Regions from separate parts of the Homo sapiens genome. Here regions 1, 2, 3, 4, 6 and 7 are each linked to region 5. The links are contacts of gene promoters, found by promoter capture Hi-C in blood cells and fetal thymus (Javierre and others, 2016). All regions are on one chromosome and are shown on one strand. The core of a region is centred on a gene start or on the middle of the fragment in contact, and the rest is flanking DNA. Distances in the headings are between cores, read along the strand shown. Region 1 has its middle 4.9 kb from the start of ME2. Region 2 overlaps ME2 (malic enzyme 2). Region 3 overlaps ATP8B1-AS1 (ATP8B1 antisense RNA 1). Region 4 has its middle 27 kb from the start of ME2. Region 5 holds the start of MBD2 (methyl-CpG binding domain protein 2). Region 6 overlaps FECH (ferrochelatase). Region 7 has its middle 13 kb from the start of MRO.

Region 1 (3,810 bases), core at 940-3,439, 3.4 Mb after region 5:
CCAAGGGATTTAGAAGCTTTTTCTCAGGAACCAGGGCAGAGACCAAATATACATTCCTATTCTATCACAATGTCACAGGCTTCTTTTCCTTTACAATATAGTGACATATGGCTATTGAGTACTTGCAATGTGGCTATTTTAAGTTGAGATATACATTGGATTTGCAGACAGTGCAAAAACATGTAAAGAATGGAAATATCTTAATTTTTAAAATATTGATCACATGTTGAAATAATATTCTGTATATTTTCGGTTCATGCAACATATTATTAAAGTTATTTTTTAAACCTCTTTTACTTTTTAAATGTGGCTACAGAAAATTTAAAATTATATACGTAATTCCTATTTGTGGCTTGCACTCTATTTCAGTTGGATCATGTGGGTCTAAGGTGACCCTGTTAGAAACACATACAAGGAAGCTGACGGCCGGGGCTTCTGGAAAGCCTTTTTTAAAAAAAAGAACAGATTCAACTGGCATGTGTCTTTGGCTGTTTTGCTTCATCTCACTTTTTGCCACAGATGTGTAGTGGCATGGCACCCATCATTGGGCCATAAGATGACAAACAAGAGAATGAAGGCCTGCACTCTAAGGATGTCAGAGGAGTAGAAGAGCCTGGGTTCTTCTCCAGTGCACACACATGCATGCTGGAAAAGTTAATACAGCAACCTAACATGTTCCTTTCATGTAACAGCTGCTGAGTGACATATTACATATATTGGGATCTGAGCAGTGAAAAGGCAGGAAAAAGACACATGTAATTGGAAAACATGAGTAATCATTAGTAGAAACATAGTGTCTAAACCTTCTGAAATTTCCCTCTGCTGGTTTCTACAGGCAAGAATTACACTGGCGGATATAACTCCTGGGTTAAATAAAGTAGTCATTACTCTGCAACTGGTTGTGAATTTTCTGCATGATCATCTTAAGCTTTGAAAAATACTGTGCTTTCTTGCATTTACCTTTTATCCCCTATCTGTCCAGCATTCTTGCTTGAATTGAGCTATTTCATCTTTAAATGATACTATTTTGGGCTGAGTGAGGTGGCTCACTCCTGTAATCCCAGCACTCTAGGAGGCCAAGGTGGGTGGATTGCTTGAGCACAGGAGTTTGAGACCAGCCTGGGCAATATGGTGAAACCTCATCTTTACAAAAAAAAAAAAAAAAAATTAGCCAGGCCTGATGGGGCATGCCTGTAGTCTTAGCTACTTGGGAGGCTGAGGTGGGAGGATCACTTGAGCCCAGGAGGCGGAGGTTGCACTGAGCTGAGGTCGCATCCCTGCACTCCAGCCTAGGTGACAGAGTGAGACCCTGTCTCCAAAAAAAAAAAGCTACTTTGATCCAGTAATAGTTATAGTGAGACACTAAGATGTCTCATCAGTTAAAAGACCAAGGGGAATTATATACATCCATAGGTCTCCAGAAATAATGTAAGTGTGTAGTTATTTTTCAAGTATAGAGTTTTTAAAAATGAATGTTAAGGTCTAATATATAGTAGGTCAGGGCACACAGAATCAAAACAGTACTATGATTATCCTTACTACTATTATTACTAATCTACTACTAGTAGTTTATACTTGACATCCTCAATTTGACCTAATAAGAGTTAATGAGCTATTCTAAAGGAGGAAATATAAATGAAGATATTACGACAGGAACAAGATTTTTGTGCATTTTAACAGTAACTGTTAGAAATGATTTTTAGCTCCCAACAACAGAAAACCCAATTAGAGTTGATTTATACAAATATGGGCTTTTTCACAAAAATGTGAGGGTAGGATTTAAGGCTAAACATGGCTCAATCACTTTCTGGATAATCCTTGAGAGAAGGAAAGAATCTCTTCTAAATGCAGGGTCTCTCCAGTAAATGAAGATAAAACCTGACAATTTTTGACTAGAACTATGGCTGAGCAAGAAATATAACTCCAAGCAGAGTATAAGTTATCCATAAATTAGACACCCCAATTATAGATAATCAGGGAATGATAGAAGGAAGGTTGTTTGGATTCCTATGGGGTGGGAGTGGAAGGCATGGAGGGGATGTTTGAAAATTATCTGGACAAATGCCTCAGTTCTTCAAATTTTTTCTTTTTGCTTTTGTTTTATTTTGTTCATTTACTTATTTACATCGAAGGAAAAAGCACACTTTGGGAGTGTGGAATACTTGAATTCTAGGGCTAGCTCTCACACTGTCTTAATAAGAGGCTGGATGTCTTTTTCTCCGGTTAGGTGGACACAATTAAACTTTCCCTATGTATCTCAAAGGGCATTGAAAAGAGGAATGAGACACAAAATATGCAAGAGTTTTGTGAATATTAAAAGGATACAGATGCAAAGTATTCTCATGCAGGCTGTCTGCCTGGCATATAGATGATGTTTGATAAATAATAATTACCATTCATTGAGTACTTACTATTTGCTAAGCGTTGCTCTAAGGCACCTAGTGTATTTTATTTATTTTTACTTTTTTTTTTCTGAGACAGGGTCTTGCTCTATTGCCCAGGCTGGAGTGCAGTGGTATGATCTTGGCTCACTGCAACCTCTGCCTCCCAGGTTCAAGCAATTCTTCTGCCTCATCCTCCTGAGTAGCTGGGATTACAGGTGTGTGACACCACACCTAGCTAATTATTGTAATTTTAGTAGAGACAGGGTTTTGCCATGTTGGCCAGGCTGGTCTTGAACTCCTGACCTCAGGTGATCCACCCTTGGCCTCCCAAAGTGCTAGGATTGCAGGCATGAGCCACTGTACCCCGCCCACCTCATGTATATATTAAAATTATTTAATTATCCTAACAACGCTATCAAGTAGGTATAATTATTTCTGTTTCTTTCTTTATTTTATTTTAGAGATGGGGTTGGGGTCTTGCCATGTTGCCCAGGCTGGTCTTGAACTCCTGAACTCAACGAATCCTCCCATCTTGGCCTCCCAACGTATTGGGATTACTGGCATGAGCCACCGTGCCACTCCTGTTTTTGTCGTTGTTGTTGTTCAAGATAGGGTATTGCTCTGTCACCCACGCTGGAGTGCAGTGCCAATTGTAGCTCATTGCAGCCTTGATCTCCCAGGGTCAAGCAATCCTCCTGCCTCAGCCTCCCAAGTAGCTGGGACTACTGGCATGTACCACCACAACCAGCTAATGTTTTTTATTTTTAGTAGAGACAAGGTCTTGCTATGTTGTTCAGGCTGCTCCTGAACTCTTGATCTCAAGCTATTCTCCCACCTTGACCTCCCAGAGTGCTGAGATTACAGGCATGAGCCACTGTGCCCAGCTGGTAGGTATAATTATTATCCCCATTTTACATATGGGAAAACTGAGGACTTAGAGGTTGATTCATCCAAGGGTACCACTAATAAGTGGAAAGAGGATACAAACTACACTGTACAGACTGAATATTTTAAAATATGTTTATGTACAGTTCAGTGTCTTGGAAAGATTTGAAAGTAAGCTTGGAGCATTATGTCACCCCACTCCCCAACCTGGGAAAGACTTCCCCGCTGTAAGCTGTCAATTAAAAACTGCTTCGTAATTCAAGGACAAATTCTAATCTCAGCTCTTCAGTGAACACTGGTGTAATAGTATGTAAACGCACACTGGAATCACCAGGGAGCTTTAAACAAATTGATGCCTACCTTATACCAATAAAACAAGAATGTTCCGATATGGGTCTCCAACACCCATGTTTCTTAATAGTTCTCATGTATTTCTGTTTTGTATACTTTTATACAACATATTAGAAACTCCATGAGAGTAGAGATTTATAAAAAGTATTTCTTCCTGTATTCCTAAGTCCTCACATATGATTGATACTTG
Region 2 (3,767 bases), core at 789-3,288, 3.3 Mb after region 5:
ACACCCAGCTCACTCAGTTCTTATAGACTACTACATTTTTCAATTCTAGAATTTAGTGGTACTTGTCTTAAGTTTTTAAGATTGGCTTTTATCTCTATAAACATAATAAGCATATTTGTTTCATAGCATTTACGGTATATCCAGGGTTTCAGTGTGTCTGTTTTTCTTGTTTTTGCTGGTTTTGGCTTCTGTTGTTATGTCTCTTTATGTGCCTCATTATCTTTTTTTTTATTTTTCTACTTAGGTTGTACTTGAAAATTTATAAAAATAATTTGAGGACTAGGATGCCATTATCTTATTTCAGAGAAATTTTTGTTTGCTTCCGCTGGGCACTTGTGGGCACTGGCAGTCCCGAACAGAGGCTTGAGGTTTTCTAAATCACCCATTGCTGCTGCAAACTATACCCCCAATCCAAGGTACAGCACTTTAGGGTTTCAGTCCAGAGTGGGAGGTAGTGCCAGACTCGGACATGGTGCCGATCTTGTCCACTTTCCATGAAAAGCACAGCTGTACCTCTTAGCCACTTTCTTCCTGGTCTATATTTCCACTGTAAAACTGGCTTCAAAAGCTTGTTCTGTGCATTTGTTCCCTCCCTAACCTTGGTCCAGAATTCTCCAATATTCCATTAGAGTCAATATCTTATCCCTTTGACCCTTTTAAAGTCTTAAAAAAAATTTTCATCCGGTTGTTATAGTTGCTCAACTAGGTCATTCAAATATTAACAGTTTTTTTTTTAAGTTGCTTTATAAACAGACTTTCAGCCAATCCTCCTGCTTTTAGGCTCATTTCTGCCTCAAATGCCAGGTCATTTTATTTTATTTTTTTGAGACAGTCTCACTTTGTTGCCCAGGCTGGAGTGCACTGGCATGATGATGGCTCACTGCAGCCTGGACCTCCCAGGCTCATGCGATCCTTCCATCTCAGCCTCCTGACTAGCTGGGAATAGGGGTGTGCACCACTACACCTGGTTAATTTTTTTAATTTTTGGAAGAAACAAGGTCTCACTATGTTGCCCAGGCTGGTGTCAAACTTCTGGCCTCAAGCAATCCTCCTGCCTCGGCCTCCCAAAATGTTGGGATTACAGGCGAGAGCCACCATGCCTGACCAGGTCATTTTTAATGTCTATATTTATGGTATCCATAGCTGTTATTTAAGTTAGGATTTTAAAGTGTTATATAAAAATAATCAACTGCTAAATTCCTTAATACTCAGATATGATATAAAATATGGTTTTGCTGAATTTAGAACAACCATTCGACCCAGCAATCCTATTATTGGGTATATACTCAAAGGAATATAAATCATTCTACCATAAAGACACATGCATGTGTATGTTCACTGCAGCACTATTCACAATAGTAAAGACATAGAATTAATCTAAATGCCCATCAATGGTAAACTGGATAAAGTAAATGTGGCACATATACACCATGTGTATAAATAAAAAAAAATACTATGCAGCCAAAAAAATGAATGAGATCACGTCCTTTGCAGTAACATGCATGGAGCTGGAGGCTATTATCCTAAGTGAACTAACACAGGAACAGAAAACCAAATGCCGTATGTTCTCACTTGCAAGTGGAGCTAAGTGATAAGAACTCATGGACACAAAGAAGGGAACAACAGACACTGGGGCCTACTTAAGGGTAGAGGGCGGGAAGAGGGTAAGGATCAAACAACTACCTATCGGGTAGCATGCTTATTAGCCGGGTGATGAAATAATCTATACATGAAACCCCCTGCAACACACAATTTACCTATATAACAAACCTTCATATGTACCCCTGGAACTAAAAAAAAAAAGTTTAAAAAAATAGCTTTGTTAAAATCAGCAGAAAAGTATTTCCTTTCCTGCCCTCATGTCTTTTAGGCCATAGAAATGTTACTGAATAGAACACATTAATTTTGAACATTATCAAGTTCTAGAAAGAGATTATGGATGACAGGACAGTTTCTATTATAGAAGTTAGGTCTCAAGAGACATATAGGAAAACATGAGGGGCAAAAAAAAGGAGAAAAATATAGAAAAGTACCAGGATATTCACAGACTAAATACCCTCTTTACTTTGACAACAGTTATACATGCTTGCCTGATGCCAGCCTATATAAACTTGTCATATCTTAATTAGAGCCTGCTGTCAGCTAGTCAGGGAAAGACCTACCAGAAGAAAAAAGACACAAGTGCAAAAGAAAATCATACAAAATTCCTGTTTTACTCAACACAGTCTTGCTTAAAAGAAAGAGACAACTGAGGATCACTAGAAATTTATGGAAAATACAGCACAAAGGCAGAAACATTGAAAGGAATCCTAATAATTCTCCAGAAAAAGCTCAATGAGTACTGTAACCATTTTTGCTTTAAAAGTAGCTATTTAGAAAGAGCAATTCTAGAATAAAAAAGGTATTGGGAATAAAAATAAGTTGTTGAACTGAGGTAATGATAAACGATATTAAGCAATTATTATTAATTTCCTTTGGTGTGATACCAGTATACTGGGTGTATCTTACAAAATAAGAACACCTGGCTGGGCGTGGTGGCTCACACCTGTAATCCCAGCACTTTGGGATGGGCAGAACACCTGAGGTCAGGAGTTCGAGACCAGCCTGGTCAACATGGTGAAACCCCATCTCTACTAAAAATACAAAAATTAGCTGAGTGTGGTGGTGCATGCCTGTAGTCCCAGATACTCGGGAGGCTGAGGCAGGGGAACTGCTTGAACCTGGGAAATAAATCTATCAGTCACGATGGTAACCATCAGAAGAACTCCCAGCAAATTATTGACAATGGTTCTGAGAAGTATGATTAAGGAGGTACACCAAGGGGAGATAGAAAGGGTTACATAATTTTGTGCCATTCTGTTCCTCTGCATTTTTACAAATCATGCAATATATTATTTCTATAATAAAAACAAATTTAATTAACAATATGAATAAATTTTCAGAGAAAGTGGAGCATGCTGAATTTGATGAATTCCTTGAGTTTCCTTGTACATTTATACCAAAATTCTGTAATACTGTTGCTCAGTTCAGTCTCCCATTCCAAAGAATTCCATTAAGTATTTTTACATAATTAACTATTGCTCTATAACATAAATAATGGTGGCATTTACCTGGAAAAATATAAACATTGTTTCCTTGACCTGGTGTAAAGACTCGCCCATCTGTAAGTTTCACTGGCCCAAATGGACTGCCACTGGCAAACAAACACCTGCCCTGTTAATAAAATGAAATAACTTCAATTTTGTTATTTTCTGTGGATGAGAAAATTGAGGTGAATTCATACAAAATCAAGTCCTGAAGTAAAATAGACCAATATATTACTTGGAAGCAAGGCATAATATACTATATAACAATCTTTTCGTTACAATCCTTTTGTTAGAATGAGGTTTGTTTCATGTGTAGTATACATTCAATAAATAAATAATAAAGTTAAAAATCATTTATTACTAAAAATTTAAAAACCAGACACTTATTTTTAAGAAATTTAAGGCCAGGCACAGAAGCTTACACCTGCAGTCCCAGCACTTTGGGAGGCCAAGGTGGGCAGATCACTGGAGGCCAGGAGTTTGAGATGGCCTGGAACAGAGTGAAACCCCTATCTCTACAAAAAATACAAAAAATACAAAAAATTAGCTGGGTGTGTTGGCCCATGCCTGTAATCTCAGCTACTCAGGAGCCTGAGGCGGGAGAATCACTTGAACCCAGGAGGCAGAGGTTGCAGTGAGCCGATAGCACGCCACTGCACTCCAGCCTGGGCAACAGAGCGA
Region 3 (3,414 bases), core at 155-2,654, 3.4 Mb before region 5:
CCAAGCTGCATAATGAATAAACCAGTCTATGGAAATGCTATAGGAGGTTTTCTATTACCATCCATTTGGGGGTTCCCACCTACCTTCAGCTTCCTTATTTAAATTTTGTGTGAACAACATAAAAACTTTGTGTTCATTGAAGAGTTTAATAAAAACAACACAAAGGACTGTTTCTAAAGGAGCTTTGAAAGTTCAAGATTCTAGAAAACTTATATCAAGATTTTATCACTGCAAACATCTTGAGTAAATAGAAACTCAAAAGAGCTCTTTTATATTCACTGTATTTGTCAAAGACTGAGCTATTTTATAGGATTTTGTGGCTTGGGGTGAAAGTATTTTTATGACCTGTTCTAACAGAAAAAAAAAAAAACCCAAACCTGATTAAGATATCATCAGCTGAGCTTCTGAGACCCCCCGAGACCCCTTGGAGCCTCAACTCCGGCCGGGCATGGTGGCTCACGCCTGTAACCCCAGCACTTTGTGGGACCAATGCAGGCGGATCACTTGAGGTCAGGAGTTCAAGACCAGCCTGTCCAACATGGTGAAACCCCATCTCTACTAAAAATACAAAAATTAGCCAGACGTGGTGGCAGGCGCCTGTAATCCCAGGTACTTGGGAGGCTGAGACAGGAGAATTGCTTGAACCTGGGAGGTGGAGGGTGCAGTGAGCTGAGATCATGCCATTGCACCCCAGCCTGGGGGACAGAGAAAGACTTCATCTCAAAAAAAAAAAAAAAAGTCTCAATTCCTATAAACTGATACATGATCGTTCTTCAAACTAACCAAGCGGACTTCATTGCTTTTAGAGGACACAATTAATTCTCTCTGAAAGTTTCCCCACCTCTATAGAGAAAATGTTTTTCTCTCTTTGACTCTGTCTTCACCTTTCTGAACAGCTATCCCAAACCCCACATCGTACCCAGATCAATTCAGTGAAAAAGCTAGCCTGGGCTAAAGTTAATTGTACCTTTAAAAAGCAATAGGGCTGGGCGCAGTGGCTCACACCTGTAATCCTAACACTTTGAGAGGTTAAGGTGGGCATATCCCTTGAGCCCAGGAGTTCGAGACCAACCTGGGCAACAAGGCAAAACCCCCAAACCCCGTCTCTACAAAAAAAAAAAAAAAAAAAAATTAGCCAGGTGTGATGGTGTGTGCCTGAAGTCCCAGCTACTTTTGAGGCTGAGGTGGGAGGATCACCCCTGTCTCAAAAGAACAAATAAAAAATAGTCGGGCGTGGTGGTTCACGCCTGTAATCCCAGCACTTTGGGAAGCCGAGGCAGGCAGATCACCTGAGGTCGAGAGTTCAAGACCAGCCTGACCAACATGGAGAAGCCCCGTCTCTACTAAAAATACAAAATAAGCTGGGCACGGTGGCGCATGCCTGTAGTCCCAGCTACTTGGGAGACTGAGGCAGGAGAATCACTTGAAGCTAGGAGGCGGAGGTTGCGGTGAGCTGAGATCGCTCCATTGCACTCCAGCCTGGGCAACAAGAGCAAAACTCCGTCTCAAAAAAATAATAATAATAAATAAATAAAATAAATAAAAATAAGAAGCAGCTCTCCCTCTCCCTCTCCCTCTCTCTCCCTCTCCCCTCTTTCCACGGTCTCCCTCTGATGCCGAGCCGAAGCTGGACTGTACTGCTGCTATCTCGGCTCACTGCAACCTCCCTGCCTGATTCTCCTGCCTCAGCCTGCCGAGTGCCTGCAATTGCAGGCGCGCGCCGCCACGCCTGACTGGTTTTCGTATTTTTTGGGTGGAGACGGGGTTTCGCTGTGTTGGCCGGGCTGGTCTCCAGCTCCTGACCGCGAGTGATCCGCCAGCCTCGGCCTCCCGAGGTGCCGGGATTGCAGACGGAGTCTCCTTCACTCAGTGCTCAATGGTGCCCAGGCTGGAGTGCAGTGGCGTGATCTCGGCTCGCTACAACCTCCACCTCCCAGCAGCCTGCCTTGGCCTCCCAAAGTGCCGAGATTGCAGCCTCTGCCCGGCCGCCACCCCGTCTGGGAAGCGAGGAGCGTCTCTGCCTGGCCGCCCATCGTCTGGGATGTGAGGAGCCCCTCTGCCTGGCTGCCCAGTCTGGAAAGTGAGGAGCGTCTCTGCCCGGCTGCCATCCCATCTAGGAAGTGAGGAGCGTCTCTGCCCGGCCGCCCATCGTCTGAGATGTGGGGAGCGCCTCTGCCCTGTCGCCCCGTCCGGGATGTGAGGAGCATCTCTGCCCGGCCGCCCCGTCTGAGAAGTGAGGAGACCCTCTGCCTGGCAACCGCCCTGTCTGAGAAGTGAGGAGCCCCTCTGCCCAGCAGCTGCCCCGTCTGAGAAGTGAGGAGCCCCTCCGCCGGGCAGCCACCCCGTCTGGGAAGTGAGGAGCCCCTCCGCCCGGCAGCCACCCCGTCTGGGAAGTGAGGAGCGTCTCCGCCCGGCAGCCACCCCGTCCAGGAGGGAGGTGGGGGGGTCAGCCCCCTGCCCGGCCAGCCACCCCATCCGGGAGGTGAGGGGCGCCTCTGCCCGGCCGCCCCTACTGGAAAGTGAGGAGCTCCTCTGCCCGGCCAGCCGCCCCGTCCGGGAGGGAGGTGGGGGGGTCAGCCCCCCGCCCGGCCAGCCGCCCCGTCCGGGAGAGAGGTGGGGGGGTCAGCCCCCTGCCCGGCCAGCCACCCCGTCCGGGAGGTGAGGGGCGCCTCTGCCCAGCCGCCCCTACTGGGAAGTGAGGAGCCCCTCTGCCCGGCCAGCCGCCCCGTCCGGGAGGGAGGTGGGGGGGTCAGCCCTCCGCCCGGCCAGCCGCCCTGTCTGGGAGGTGAGGGGCGCCTCTGCCCGGCCGCCCCTATGGGAAGTGAGGAGCCCCTCTGCCCGGCCACCACCCCGTCTGGGAGGTGTACCCAACAGCTCATTGAGAACGGGCCATGATGACAATGGCGGTTTTGTGGAATAGAAAGGGGGGAAAGGTGGGGAAAAGATTGAGAAATCGGATGGTTGCCGTGTCTGTGTAGAAAGAGGTAGACATGGGAGACTTTTCATTTTGTTCTGTACTAAGAAAAATTCTTCTGCCTTGGGATCCTGTTGATCTGTGACCTTACCCCCAACCCTGTGCTCTCCTGAAACATGTGCTGTGTCCACTCAGGGTTAAATGGATTAAGGGCGGTGCAAGATGTGCTTTGTTAAACAGACGCTTGAAGGCAGCATGCTCGTTAAGAGTCATCACCACTCCCTAATCTCAAGTACCCAGGGACACAAACACTGCGGAAGGCCGCAGGGTCCTCTGCCTAGGAAAACCAGAGACCTTTGTTCACTTGTTTATCTGCTGACCTTCCCTCCACTATTGTCCTGTGACCCTGCCAAATCCCCCTCTGCGAGAAACACCCAAGAATGATCAATCAATAAATAAATAAATAAATAAATAATAAAAAAAAAAATAAGAAGCAGTGG
Region 4 (3,714 bases), core at 1,097-3,596, 3.4 Mb after region 5:
GAATGAATTCCTCTACCACAGCTTGAAAGCTAGAAAGGGACTATTGGTTACCTAAGTAAGTTCAGCATTTTTCTTTCTTGGAAGGTGAAGTGAGACTTGGACAGGTAAGTAAATGAGTCCCCTTAAGACTCACTGCAGGCAAGGGCCACACTGCCGGCCAGAACTCCCCCATTTCACCCACCACACTGGCAGGGCAGTCATCCGTCTACAAAATGCCTTTCTTCAGTGTCCTGTGTGAGATGCCGCTCAGATCTCGTAGTTCGTTACTCAGCGCCTTCGCAGTTGACTCACTGACTGCTCTGAGACTCAGCACTCTGGGAATTTCAACATAACCTTTGCCTCAACCTTACAAAGCCCTAACTCTAATCTCTGACCTCATTTGCTGGGGAACTTGAATATGTTCCTTTATCCTTCTGGTTTCCTCTCCTCCCCTGACTCATAGGGAATACAAAAGAATTGATTCTTATGAAAAGTGCCAAGTAGGCACTACTACACAGTTATCTGAAATGTAACTCACTTGGATGTATAATGAAAGCTTCTTTCTGCATAGATTAACCTCTGGACTGAGGATATGGTTGTATGATAAATGATTAACATCATTTCTGGACAAAACGTGCAAATTTAAAAAGTTTAAAGTTGAAGTTACTTAACTATAAAAAAAAGTTGTTGACAACATTCACCCCTAGTGTATTAATGAATTTTTCTTTCTTTTTTATTTATTTATTTGAAACAGAGTCTTACTGTGTTGCCCAGGCTTGAGTGCCATAGTGCAATCTTGGCTCATTGCAACCTCCACTTCCTGCGTTCAAGTGATTCTTGTGCCTCGGCCTCCTGAGTAGCTGGGACTATAGGTGCATAATTTTTGTATTTTTAGTAGAGACAGGGTTTTGTATTTTTAGTAGAGACAGGGTTTCACTATGTTGGCCAGGCTGGTCTCTAACTCCTGGCTTCAAGTGATCTGCTTACCTCAACCTCCCAAAGTGCTGGGATTCCAGGCATGAGCCACTGCACCCAGCTGGATTAATGGATTTAATAAATACTTCATTAAGTAACTTTATGAAAGGGAGTGTACTAGGGATTGAAAAGAATATAAAATTCAATAACACTGTCCTTGGCCTTGTGGAGTTTGCAATTTGGGATAAGAACTGGGCTGTGTGCACAAGTTACTGTAATACAAAGTAAAAGGTAACAAATGCTTATAAGGGGGAGTTTCGTGGAAGTGCCAGGAATAGGGGGAAAACATTTCAGGTAGGGAATATCAAGGAAGGCTTGTGTAGTAGATGTCATTTGTCATTTTATCTGAGTCTTGAAGGATAGCCATAGTTCTGATAGGTCAAAATGAATTCCAGACAGAGAAGTAGATGTGAAATCTTAGAGCTTGTTCTGTTAGCAGGAATTTGGAACAGAAGAATGTAAGCAAGACTAGATTGGCAGGTTGGGGCTCAAATGTGGAAGCCTTCAATACCATGCAAAATAATTTGGTCTTTGTTCTGCAAGCAATGGAGAGTTAGTAAGAGTTTTTGGAGGTTGCAGGGGAATGGGGTGACAGTAGTGACATGATCAAAATGTGGTTTAGAAGTATCATTCTGGAGTGATATCAGGAACCAGGTGACCATGTAGGAGGGTAGAACAATACCCTAGACTAGACCAGGGGAATGGGAATGGAAAGGAAGAGATGGAACACAGAGCTCTGCAAGTTTGACAGAGAGAGGGAGGCATTTTTCTAAAGTTTTAAGAGTAATTGGTTTTTCAAAGAGATGTGAGAAAATGGGAAGTGATCATTCTTTGGTCAGGCAGAGTAACAGAATCAGGGAGGCCCAGCACTTTGAGAGGCTAAGGCAGGCAGATCACCTGAGGCCTGGAGTTCGAGACCAGCTTGGTCAACATGGTGAGACCCTGTCTCTACTAAAAATGCAAAAATTAGCCAGCCGCGGTGGCGCACACCTGTAGTCCCAGCTACTTGGGAGGCTGAGGCAGGAGAATCACCTGAACCTGGGAGGCAGAGGTTTCAGTGAGCTGAGATTGTGCCACTGCACTCCAGCCTGGTGACGGAGTGAGATTCCGTCTGAAAAAACAAAAACAACAACAACAACAACAACAACAAAAAAAAAAAACCCAAAAAATAGAATCAGGGAGAGTCTTAGAAACACAAACAGACTGCTTGATAAAGAGCAGCCCGCGTGTTCTGCAAGCTTGCATTGTCCTGGGTTGAAAGTCAGGTCAGAAGGAAGCAGGTGATGAGGCATTGGTGAGCTTCCCTTTGGAAACAGAAGCAAACTATGAGTTTATCTATAGTTTACCACTGGTTTCTGTGCCATGGGAGAGGTGATAAAAAAATCTCCCTAGGAAAAGGGATTGGACATTCTTTCCTTTGACTTAACTTTGACTTTGGCGATAATCCTTGGATGAGGAGCGGAACCCTGGCTTCACCCCAGGAGGTTGCAGCAAAGATGGGAGGAGACTCCAGCAGCTGAGTAGGCCCAGGTAGGAAACAAGCTTTGGGGTTGAGTAGTGGAAAGGTCTGTAAGGCCTCCCAACCTGGGAAATAGATACACTTGTTAAGGATTGAAAAACCAGCGTGTGGAAAGGTGAAGGGTTCTATTTTGGACAAATTGAATTGGAGGTGCTGGCTGTACGAAGACAGACTAGTCGTGGGTAGCCAAGCCTGGACTGATGCGGCTCATTGGTTTGAAGCCCCGTTTGCATCAAATGAAAATAAGATCTAGGCTGGTCGCGGTGGCTCATGCCTGTAATCCCAGCATTTTGGGAGGCCGAGGCGGGCGGATCACGAGGTCAAGAGATGAAGACCATCCTGGCCAACATGGTGAAACCCCGTCTCTAATAAAAATACAAAAAATTAGCCAGGCGTTGTGGCGGGCGCCTGTAGTCCCAGCTACTCAGGAGGTTGAGGCAGGAGAATGGCGTGAACCTGGGAGGTGGAGCTTGCAGTGAGCCGAGATCGTGCCACTGCACTCCAGCCTGGGGACAGAGTGAGACTCTGTCACAAAACAACAACAACAACAAACAAACAAACAAACAAAAAAACAAGAAAGAAAGAAAAAGAAAATAAGATCTAAATTGGGTTGGGCATTGTGGTTTGAGCCTGTAATCCCAGCTACTCGGGAAGGTGGAGGGATCGCTTGAGCCCACGAGTTTGAGACCAGCCTGGCAACAGAGCAAGACCCCATCTCAAAAAAAAAAAAATCTAAATTAGGAAGGGTGGTCTTGATAGGCAATATATGAGTGCAGTGACCTCTAGTCCTATCAGAGACAGAGGGTCCTGCCCCAAGGCCCTTGCAGACTCAGATCACATTTCCGTGTCAACGCAGAGTCCTATGTCAGGGATGGATAGTCTGTCATCGTAAGCACTGGCATAGGTTTTCTTGAAGGAGAAATGATTTCACTGAACAAGATGTTCCAGATTTCTGTTGCAGGAAGGATTCTGCTCATGTGCAGTAGGGAGAGGTTTCTACTGAGCCAGCTGATTGCTCTCCTGCTCTCATACAGACCATACTGATTTTCTAGGGAAGGAGTTAACATGGCTTCTTGGAGCTTAAGTCTGCCTGTGGTAGTTGCACATGCCTAGCTCAGACTTCTTCCTCTTCTTCTTCTTTTTTTTTTTTTTTTTTTTTTTTTTTGAGACCGGGTCTTGCTCTGTTGTCCCAGCCTGGAGTGCTGTGGCCGATCTCAGCTCACTGCAGCCTTGACCTCCCA
Region 5 (3,311 bases), core at 570-3,069:
CTTACTTACTTCCAGGGCCTCCTTCAACTGTCACTTTCACAAATGACTTTTTTTTTTTGAGACGGAGTCTCGCTCGGTTGCCAGGCTGGAGTGCAGTAGCGGGATCTCGACTCACTGCAATCTCCGCCTCCCGTGTTCAAGCGATTCTCTTGCCTCAGCCTCCCGAGTAGCTGGGATTACAGGCGCACGCCAGCACGCCCAGCTAATTTTTGTATTTTAATAGAGATGGGGTTTGACCATGTTGGCCAGAATGGTCTCTATCTCTAGACCTCGTGATCCGCCGGCCTCGGCCTCCCAAAGTGCTGGGATTACAGAAGTAAGCCACCGCGCCCGGCCACAAATGACTTCTTTTTTTTTTTTTGAGACAGAGTCTCGCTCTGTCTGCCAGGCTGGAGTGCAGTGGCGTGATCCAGTTCACTGCAAGCTCCGCCTCCCGGGTTCACGCCATTCTCCTGCCTCAGCCTCCGGAGCAGCTGGGACTACGGGCGCCCGCCACCACGCCCAGCCAATTTTCTGCATTTTTAGTAGAGACGGAGTTTCATCGTGTTAGCCAGGCTGGTCTTGAACTCCTGACCTCAGGTGATCTGCCCGCCTCTGCCTCCCAAAGTGTTGGGATTACAGGCGTGAGCCACCGCGCCCGGCCCACAGATGACTTCTAAATGAATGTCTCCAGTACTGATCTCCTCAGAACTCATTTCTTGATGATTTTTTACATTCACATTTCTAAATTTCTTGTAGGAAACCACAAATTAGTGTCTTTCAACTAAAGGACATTAAAAGAAGACTAAGGTCAGGTTTAGAGACAGACAAGTTTGTGTGTATGAGTTAATGTTTGCATATACTGCAAAGATAAACCAAATTAATTTTAGATTTTTGTTGCTTTATATTAATCAACTTTTTCTATACGTTAAACTTGGTCCTCAGTTTTTAGGGCATATGAGTATAGAAACCCAAGATAGCTTATCATCAGGCTGATAACATGTGCTTTACATTTTTCAATCTTCCAAATATTTCATAATATATTATCTTGAATATCAATAGCACACTTCTATAAGTGTTCGACAACTTATAGAAAATATGCATTTCTAAAATTCAAGTTGGCAGACCGAAAAGAATACCACACAGTTTCCTAAAGGCTTGTGACAGTAAGTTAGGCTGGACTTTCAACATAATGGAATATTTACCAAATAAAAGGCCACTGATTTTTGTATTAGACAAAGACATCTGGAAATTTCTAGATGGATTTAGGGATTCTGGTCATTCTAAGGAGAATCTAGAGGTAAGCCCCATCTGACTCATGGGCATATTCCAAGTTATCATTTCCTTTCCTACATCCTTACAAGGTTCCAGGAGAATCTGTCAATGGCTCTGAAGCCAGGCTCAGGAGGGAACTGGTATTCAGCGAATGGGACACTTTGCTTCATTCCTTCATTATAAGCTCCCCTGCAAGCTTTGTGCAGAGGGGCGGGAAAAGGGGCTATCACCCCCTTAAATGAATAGCCGAGTTGGTATGTAATATAAGATCTATTTTGCTTGTTATTCATTAATTGGGAAGCAAACATAGGTAAAATCACATAATGGTGGAGGTTACCCCGTTTGAAACAAACTAACCACAGTCACTATGACACCCCCAGCTGGTGGCTAGCCCGACCAACCTTCCCAGCTCCGCGCGCCCAGTGGGGGCCGGAAAAGCGCGGGAGGGGGCGTGGCCCCGAGAAGGCGGAGACAAGATGGCCGCCCATAGCGCTTGGAGGACCTAAGAGGCGGTGGCCGGGGCCACGCCCCGGGCAGGAGGGCCGCTCTGTGCGCGCCCGCTCTATGATGCTTGCGCGCGTCCCCCGCGCGCCGCGCTGCGGGCGGGGCGGGTCTCCGGGATTCCAAGGGCTCGGTTACGGAAGAAGCGCAGCGCCGGCTGGGGAGGGGGCTGGATGCGCGCGCACCCGGGGGGAGGCCGCTGCTGCCCGGAGCAGGAGGAGGGGGAGAGTGCGGCGGGCGGCAGCGGCGCTGGCGGCGACTCCGCCATAGAGCAGGGGGGCCAGGGCAGCGCGCTCGCCCCGTCCCCGGTGAGCGGCGTGCGCAGGGAAGGCGCTCGGGGCGGCGGCCGTGGCCGGGGGCGGTGGAAGCAGGCGGGCCGGGGCGGCGGCGTCTGTGGCCGTGGCCGGGGCCGGGGCCGTGGCCGGGGACGGGGACGGGGCCGGGGCCGGGGCCGCGGCCGTCCCCCGAGTGGCGGCAGCGGCCTTGGCGGCGACGGCGGCGGCTGCGGCGGCGGCGGCAGCGGTGGCGGCGGCGCCCCCCGGCGGGAGCCGGTCCCTTTCCCGTCGGGGAGCGCGGGGCCGGGGCCCAGGGGACCCCGGGCCACGGAGAGCGGGAAGAGGATGGATTGCCCGGCCCTCCCCCCCGGATGGAAGAAGGAGGAAGTGATCCGAAAATCTGGGCTAAGTGCTGGCAAGAGCGATGTCTACTACTTCAGGTACCTCCCTGGGGGCGGGGAGGGGGTGGCGGGGTCAGGCCGGGGTCAGGGGTCAAGAGCGGGCCTGGGCAGAGGATGAGCGCTGGGGCCCGGGGGGCATGTGGCAGGGACAGGCTGGTTTGGTGGTGGAAGGTGGCGGAACCCTTGGGTGAGAGTTGACCCCAGTGCGGTGGGAGGCAGTGTCAAAAGGTGAGGGCCCGCAGGAGGGCATCTTATGTGGAAGGCGTCGGGGAAGATGGTTTGCGAAGAAAGGGTTAGCCTGGCAGGGATGGTTAGTCCACTGAAGGGTTAAAAGGAGGTGTAATTCATCGAAACTATAAAACCCAGTCACTGTTGGCTCCTGTCCCAGCCTGTCCCAGATTCATCATCACAAGTGTTAAGCATGCACATGTGGAAGAATGAGCTATCTACAGTAACAAGGTTTCATTTACTTCATCCAAGAAAGTTTTGTATAAAGCAGCTATTTGGAATGCCTGAAGTTTTTTTGGAACTTCTTGGTATTGCAGAATATACTCTTTTGAAACTGACACACTGTACTAAGTTTTTAGACTCCTAGACCAAAATTTGCTCCCCAGGGAACATTTGTCAATGTCTGGAGACATTTTCGGTTCTCACACCTGGGGAGGGTGTGATACTGGCATCTAGTGGGTAGAGGCCAGAGATGCTGCTACATATTCGATAATACAAAGGAAAGCTGCCACAACAAAGAATGATCTGGCCCAAATTGTCACCTGTGCTGAGGTTGAGACATCCTGTTTTAAATGATTCAAGGTTTTTCACCTTAGTGTAATCTTGCAATCCCGTGGTCATGCTGCTGATGTCTTCAGTTTGTGTGACCCAG
Region 6 (3,355 bases), core at 384-2,883, 3.4 Mb before region 5:
GTCTCAGCCTCCCAAGTAGCTAGGACTACAGGTGCACACCACCACACCCAGCTAATTAAAACAAATTTTTTTTCTTGTAAAGATGGGGGTCTCATTTTGCTGCCGAGGCTGGTTTTGAACTCTTGGCTTCCAGCAGTTCTGCCATGGCTTCCCAAAGTGCTGGTATTACAGGCATGAGCCATGAGCCACGAGCCACCGTGCCTGGCCAGAACCAAAATTTTCTTATTGTGTGTTTATTGTTTTTTGCTATATGATCATGGGTATGATGACTGAGTGCTGTGTAACCTGAGGTTAGTTGGGGATGGGCATTAGATACCTTCTTCATCTGGCAGCCTGCCAAGCAGGGCCCATTCCATTTCTCCTTGCCCCTCCCAGCCCCTCTCCCCACCTCAGCCATATGCACTGAGGGTTGGGATTTGATAGAAACTGAAGAACTGATTCAGTTTGGAATCCTAGAAGAAAAATTATTTCATTTGTGTGTTTTTCTAGCAGCAACTCATTAATATAAGTAGGCTTAATATTATTAAAATTAAATGAAAGTCTTTAAATTCTACTAAGTAACTTTAGATCATATTTATATAAAATAAATGGGATCATTTTAGAGAATACGGATAGGCAACAAAAAAAACCTTAAAACATTATGAATAATCTTACCACCCAATATTTTGTCTCTCTCTGTCTTCTTAAAAAAAAAATAGAGACGAGGTCTTACTGTGTTGCTCAGGCTTGTCTTGAACTCTTGGGGTCAAGCAGTCCTCCTGCCTCAACCTCCCAGAGTGCTGGGATTACAGGTGTGAGCGACCAGCCAGGCCAATTTTGTCTGTATGACTATTAAATATTCACTCTGTATGTATTTAGCAAGATGTGACCGTACTGTACATCATATATTTATAATGCCCTCTTTTTATTTACTTTATCATCATAAATACTTGTCTATATTATTTTAGTAACTGAAGAGTATTTTATTAAGTCATAAACTACCTTGACCAACATTCTGGGACACGTAGGTGATTTCTAGTTTTTTAATATTAGAAATGGTGAAGCAGTGAGTGTCTTTGTGGATTCTTCTGATGGCAGTCATTATGAAGGCATTGTGCTGCTTAATGCTTGGGCTGGACTAGACTGCAATACTAGAGTAGACACTACACTAGGCCAGGGGTTGACATTAGTTCTGTAAAGGGTTAGGTAGTAAATTTTTCAGGCTTTGTAGGCCAAACTCTGTCTTTTGCTGCTATTCAACTCCGCTGTTGTAGTGTGAGAGCAGCCATAGATATTACATAAACAATGAGGGGAGCTGTGTTCCAGTAAAACTTTATTTACAAAAACAGGCAGTAGGGGTGTATGTGTGTATACAGATTTAGTGCATGGGCTATAGTTCACCAAATTCTGTTCTAGAGGCATCATAGACCCACAGGCCAATCATGTCTTAGAGGTTTAATGAAGAGCTGGGATCGTATTACTTTTTCTTGAGGCTGACCATATAGAGTAGAATAGAATTATTGTTTATTAATTGACAAGCTTAAGTTTCTGTTACGTACATTTAATATTTCACGGAAAAACCTTGTATTTTGAGAGTCCTGGGATATAAAAATGGCAAAATGTTGAAACCTTTCCAAGTGAGAAGTTTTAAATATATTTTGCTGTATACACTTTTATATTCAAACAAACGGAACATGAACGTTCAGACCTTGGTCTCAGGTGTGTTCTGTCTGGAGGGAGAGGAGATGGAGACCCTTGACTAAAGCTTTCACTTCACATTCTGGAATAGAGGGGTGTCAGACTGGGGCTTACTAATGCGCTATTCATCATGCACAACACAGTTTTGAATTAAGTGCATGTGTATTTAGGTATTTTCAAGTCGTGTGCATCTCTTTCATGTGTAAGATCAACATGCGTTTGCAAAACCATGAGCAGGGCAGAGTAGCATCCCCTTTAAAGCCACTCTTGTTCTGAGCTCAGGTGTTATAGATGAAAAACAGCTCTAAATCCCGTTTGCACACTGATACCGTCTGTGGCTTAGGTAAGTCTTTTAGCCTGAGGTTTTTTTAACCAGTAATCTGTTAACTGGCAGCAATCCATGGGAAAATGCACTTAATTTATTGTGAGTCACAGATTTTGAAGGTGAAAGACAGGATCCCAGGAGAAGACTAGTGGTCTAAGTAGAAAGATTAAACGAATATTAGTTTCACAAAATAATGCATCTGGAATTTTCAAATATCAAGGAAAGAAAACTCAACACACCCGTTAATGCAGTTGTAGGACTCGAGCATGGAAGAGTTATATAACAACCACATCTTCAGTGCAGTTGCTTGGTTGTTTTAGAAGGGGATTAAGCCCTCTTTCTCTAAGACAGTGATTCTCAATAGGGGGAAGGGGGCATTTTTGCCTCCTGGGACAAATTTGGCAATGGCTGGAGACATTTTTGGTTGTCACACTGGGGTGGGGTGTGTGCTATTATTGTGTACAGGTAGAGGCCAGGTATGCTGCCAAGGCTCCTGCATTGCACAGGGCCGTCCTCTACAACAAAGGACTCTCCAGCCCCAAACGTCAGTAGTGCTGAGGTTGAAAAACCCCGGTTGAAGGCATTGATGTGAAAAGGGACCTTAGTTAATCTTTATAATGGGGTCTAAATGAGAAAATCCCTGATCTCATTGTAATGCCATATTTCTCCTTCCCCAGGAATTGATTCGTATTCTGAAAAAGTAGGTTGAGAATTCAGATTTTTACCTCATCCACTTATACAACAGGTTTGATCAAGAAAACAGTTTCTACCTGTTTACATTTGACATACCCTGCTGCCTTACGTTATTGCCAAATGTTGTTAATAATTGTTTAAAAATTGCCCATTAAGATGTCACCATAAGCCTGGGGCAATGGCTCACACCTGTAATCTCAGCACTTTGGGAGCCTGAGCCAGGAGTTTGAGACCAGTCGGGGCCACATGGCGAGACTCTGTCTATATAAAAAATTTTAAAAGTAGCCAGGCATGGAGGCATGTGCCTGTGGTCCCAGCTACTCAGGAGGCCGAAGCGGGAGGATCACTTGAGCCCGGGAGGTCGAGGATGCAGTGAGCTTTGTTTGTGCAACTGCACTCCAGCCTGGGTGACAGAGTGAGACCCTGTCTCAAAAAAAAACAAAAACAAAAAAGATGTCATCATAGTATCTTTAGTTTTCGAGCACATAAAGAATGTTTCTCTATACAGGCTCTGTCTCAGCAGCATTGGTTTAGTCACTGCAGTGGTCAGAGGTAGTCTGGTGTAGGAGATTCAGGAAGTAGACCCCTCAGCGTTCATAATAACGGTGTTTAGATAAACTTCAGGCTGGTTATTTTTCAGCTGCTTTATTGAAAGTGAAT
Region 7 (3,642 bases), core at 570-3,069, 3.4 Mb after region 5:
GCGGGGCTGAAGCGGGCGGATCACTTGAGGCCAGGAGTTCGACCTTTCCCTGGCCAATATGGCGAAACCCCATCTCTACTAAAAATACAAAAATTAGCTGGTCGCAGAGGTGTGCGCCTGTAATCCCAGCTACTTGGGAGGCTGAGGCACAAGAATCCCTTGAACCTGGGAGGTAGAAGTTGCAGTGAGCCGAGATTGCACCACCGCACTCCAACCTGGGCGACAGAGGGAGACCCTGTCTCAAAAAAAAAAAAAAAAAAGAGACAATTACATAGCTCAAGTCGGGGTGGGAAGAAGTAGGACATAACTGCTGTCTCATATTAATGCCTCTCTGGGCCTGATAATTTAAAAGGGGTCACATTACTTAAATAAGAAGTATTTATATATATTCTTTTCTTTCTCAATGTCTTTTTCACTTGCACTAAATTGAGAGCAACCTGACGAAAAAGTTAAATTATTTAATATGTAAAGGAATAGCATTTTGATTACTTTGAAGTATTGACAGTATCTCAATTAAGTTAATAAAATCTTTGTAGATTACTTATGTGAATCTTACTTTCATAAACAGATAAGCTTTGTTTCTATGATCTACATGGATTTTACTGTGGTAAATAGAAAAGCTTTGTTTCTATTGGTATACCAGAAAGGATATTCCTCAAATACTTGAAGGTGCTAAAAATTTAGATCTTTTAAGATATTTAAACCTTTCCCACATCAAGTTTGTTTGTATACCAATTACTGCCATTTGTCAGTTGCAAAAGTCAAACTTCAAATTAATCCTTGTCTGAATTACCATATATTCAAAATTATGAGAGTCAATTAACTTTTACTACATATAAAAGATTGTTATTTGGATGAGGATGAGCATATCTAAAGTGAAGAGATGGAAGCTAATTGGCTCAGACCACGACAGGAGATCTTTGAAATTGTCTTTCATTTTCCAAAACCATTGCTTACATAAAGCCGTCCTGACCTGTACCGTTGTGGTGATGGTTTATGAACAATAACAGGCAGGTTGAGCTAAGCAGATGGTATTGGAGAGAGAGGGAGACCCTGCCTTGGGGGCTGGGGAGTGGAACGTGTGCAGATGACAGGGCTAGGAGAAATAAGGCTAGAAAAATAAAGTGGGGCAGAGCTTGGAAAGCTTTGAGGATCTGTATGAGGAGCCTGAACTTAAAAAGTTCTTGAGGATTCTAGGAAGATCCGCAAGATGTGAAATGATGTGAAGTGCACAGAGAATAAAATCAGGGCAATTTGTTTTGATTCCTTAATTAATTTATAAACTTCTTTTATTTTTCATCTATTTGATCTCCTTGGCCATATTGTGCCCAAGATGTGCATTCAGAAAATATTCTAAAGGCCGGGTGTGGTGGCTCATGCCTGTAATCCCAGCCACTTTGTGGGTCCGAGGCGGGTGGATCAGTTGAGCTCAGGAATTTGAGACTAGCCTGGCCAACATGGCAAAACCCCGTCTCTGCTAAAAATACAAAAACTGACCAGGTGCGTTGGCACATGCCTGTAATCCCAGCTACTCAGGAGTCTGAGGCAGGAGAACTGCTAGAACCCAAAAGGCAGAGCTTGCGGTGAGCCGAGATCTCACCACTGCACTCCAGCCTGGGTGACAAAGCAAGACTCCACCTCAAAAAAAAAGTGTGTGTGTATATATATATATATATATATACACACACACACACATATTTACATATACATATATTTATACATATATATATGTGTATGTGTATCTATATATAAAATTGTTTATTGAACCCAAACCAATGAAGTGACAGGATTACCAAGAAACATATGCTCGAGGTTGAAGCCATGAGACTCTGGAATTTTTGCAAATCTTCTAGGGTCTCTCTCTGTCACCCAGGCTGGAGTGCAATGGCACGATCTCAGCTCACTGCAACATCCACCTCCTGGGCTCAAGCAATTCTCTTGCCTCAGCCTCCCTAGTAGTTGGGACTGTAGGCATGCATAGCTACACCCAGCTAATTTTAAAATGTTTTATAGAGATGGTGTTTTGCCGTGTTGCCCAGACTGGTCTTGAACTCCTGGACTCAAGTGATCTGCCTGCATTTGCCTCCCAAAGCACTAGGATTACAGGTGTGAACCACTGCACCTGGCCTGCAAATCTTGTTGCTAATTGATATTAAAGATAACTTGGAAGACAGAGGGCAGGTGGTTCTTCCTTCCGCCATTACCAGTTCAAATGAATAATGTGGCCCCAAAGCACATGATGCTGAGTAACATCGGTATAGGTTCCCCTTCATTACTTTCTCTTTTGTTCAGATCTGCAGGTTGTGGAACCCCAGCCTCAAAGAACTGGCTGGCTACTTTTAGAAAGCCCTAAATTCAAAACTTGAAAGCAGAAAAAAATAGAAAATGATTTTTCATTTGTATTTCCTGTAAAACAACCAACTCTTATTACCTAACTTTAAAATCTCATTGATTTTACAGTTTCCGTCTTTATGTCACCTTTCCAGAAGCTTATTGATTAAACAGTGTGTGTTGTCTTTATTTACCCCCTGCCCACAACCTAGCCTCACTCCACAGCACATCTCCTGGGTGTGCCCTGGAGCTTCCAGCGTTGGAAGCTTTCTGGTTGATAATGCCTATTTTGATTGCAGCAGTAAAGTCACCAAGGACTAGAAATCCCCTGCTTCCCACTTTAGCAACTGAAGCTCATTTTGTTTGTAATTGCTAGATATTTTAGGCGGAAGAGGAATGATGGCTGGATGTGGGGAGAGGAGGGAGGAAAAACATCATGAAGGACTCTAGCTAAGAGCTTTCCAGAAAGACAACGGCTTTCCATTCAGTATTTGGAGTTTACTTGTCTAAAATATTTTAGCAAAATTGCTATAGCTCTAAGCTGCATTGTCAAGTCACACCATGAAGACAAACATCTCGTGTAGCAGGTCCTTGCAAGGAAACAGCAAAGGGAAGGGGGAAGGGTTACTCCCTACTGCCAATGACTGGTCATAGCCAAGCTTTGGCTATTAAATTAATTGCCCATCAACATCACAAATGCCCAGGGTAGGGGGGCCACTAAAATAATTATGGTAGATCAGTCCCTTTCATGACCATTAGTGCAATTCTGCAAAGGCTCCCAGGCCACTAACTCTTTCAGCACATCATCTCAAGAAGTATCCTAACTGTACTCTTAGATGACCATTTGGGGTACATGTTTGGGAGGGGAGTTGTAAATAATTTCCTACACTGATGATGTGGTGTGCCTTAGTGATGGGTAAGGCCACATTCTTATCATCAGTAAAGAGATCATGCTATCATTAGGAGCTGCCCAACTGGAAGAGTGTCACCACCATAATTCTTTATTAATTATAACTCATTGAATAGTGGTGTTACCCCAAGAAGTTGCTGTGGAGACCTTCACCCAATGAGTGACCATCTTGTGCACAACAGAGAAAGTCTATTGTCATAAACAAGTTAACACCCTACCACACACAAATTACAGTAGTACTAAACAAAATGTCTATTTACTTAAGCTACTATTACATTTAATTAGTTGCTGGGAAATAAGAAATGCATCTTCTAACAAGCTAACTCATTATAATTCCTGTCTTGCTTCTGTAGAATCACATTCAAGTGTTACGAATGCCTCAAACAATTGTTTGCTTCCGT

What was found. The method cuts DNA at HindIII sites, captures the fragments that hold promoters and counts their contacts. A CHiCAGO score of 5 or more calls a contact.
Region 1: a fragment that was not itself captured here is called in contact with the fragment with the promoter of MBD2 in region 5 in 7 of 17 cell types (total CD4 T cells, activated CD4 T cells, total B cells and 4 more); the score reaches 11.2 in total CD4 T cells.
Region 2: a contact is called between a fragment that was not itself captured here and the fragment with the promoter of MBD2 in region 5, in 2 of 17 cell types (total CD4 T cells and activated CD4 T cells). The highest score is 6.5, in total CD4 T cells.
Region 3: a fragment that was not itself captured here is called in contact with the fragment with the promoter of MBD2 in region 5 in 2 of 17 cell types (neutrophils and activated CD4 T cells); the score reaches 9.5 in neutrophils.
Region 4: a fragment that was not itself captured here is called in contact with the fragment with the promoter of MBD2 in region 5 in 1 of 17 cell types (M0 macrophages); the score reaches 9.0 in M0 macrophages.
Region 6: a fragment that was not itself captured here is called in contact with the fragment with the promoter of MBD2 in region 5 in 5 of 17 cell types (total CD4 T cells, M0 macrophages, total B cells and 2 more); the score reaches 8.0 in total CD4 T cells.
Region 7: a fragment that was not itself captured here is called in contact with the fragment with the promoter of MBD2 in region 5 in 1 of 17 cell types (naive CD8 T cells); the score reaches 6.3 in naive CD8 T cells.

The regions. Positions count from the first base shown.
Region 1 is chr18:50,872,272-50,876,081 of GRCh38, reverse strand. No RefSeq gene overlaps it. Among named protein-coding and RNA genes, the nearest start is that of ME2, 4.9 kb to the left of the region's middle. The HindIII fragment of the contact is 2,517 bases long and covers 931-3,447 here.
Region 2 is chr18:50,931,704-50,935,470 of GRCh38, reverse strand. ME2 (malic enzyme 2) reads right to left here. Exons shown (of 16, transcript NM_002396.5): 13 at 3,111-3,213. Among named protein-coding and RNA genes, the nearest start is that of ELAC1, 34 kb to the left of the region's middle. The HindIII fragment of the contact is 2,935 bases long and covers 571-3,505 here.
Region 3 is chr18:57,632,046-57,635,459 of GRCh38, reverse strand. The region is part of intron 1 of ATP8B1-AS1 (ATP8B1 antisense RNA 1); the gene reads right to left. Among named protein-coding and RNA genes, the nearest start is that of ATP8B1-AS1, 3.4 kb to the right of the region's middle. RefSeq lists an enhancer at 1,742-2,590. The HindIII fragment of the contact is 5,144 bases long and covers 1-3,414 here.
Region 4 is chr18:50,850,720-50,854,433 of GRCh38, reverse strand. No RefSeq gene overlaps it. Among named protein-coding and RNA genes, the nearest start is that of ME2, 27 kb to the left of the region's middle. The HindIII fragment of the contact is 304 bases long and covers 2,195-2,498 here.
Region 5 is chr18:54,223,177-54,226,487 of GRCh38, reverse strand. It overlaps MBD2 (methyl-CpG binding domain protein 2), which reads left to right and starts at 1,819. Exons shown (of 7, transcript NM_003927.5): 1 at 1,819-2,470. The coding sequence starts at 1,929. RefSeq lists enhancers at 1-435, 436-978 and a silencer at 1,729-2,118. The HindIII fragment of the contact is 9,949 bases long and covers 1,453-3,311 here.
Region 6 is chr18:57,575,231-57,578,585 of GRCh38, reverse strand. All of the region lies in intron 2 of FECH (ferrochelatase), which reads left to right. Among named protein-coding and RNA genes, the nearest start is that of FECH, 9.8 kb to the left of the region's middle. The HindIII fragment of the contact is 226 bases long and covers 1,521-1,746 here.
Region 7 is chr18:50,831,548-50,835,189 of GRCh38, reverse strand. No RefSeq gene overlaps it. Among named protein-coding and RNA genes, the nearest start is that of MRO, 13 kb to the right of the region's middle. RefSeq lists an enhancer at 2,487-2,596. The HindIII fragment of the contact is 1,345 bases long and covers 1,147-2,491 here.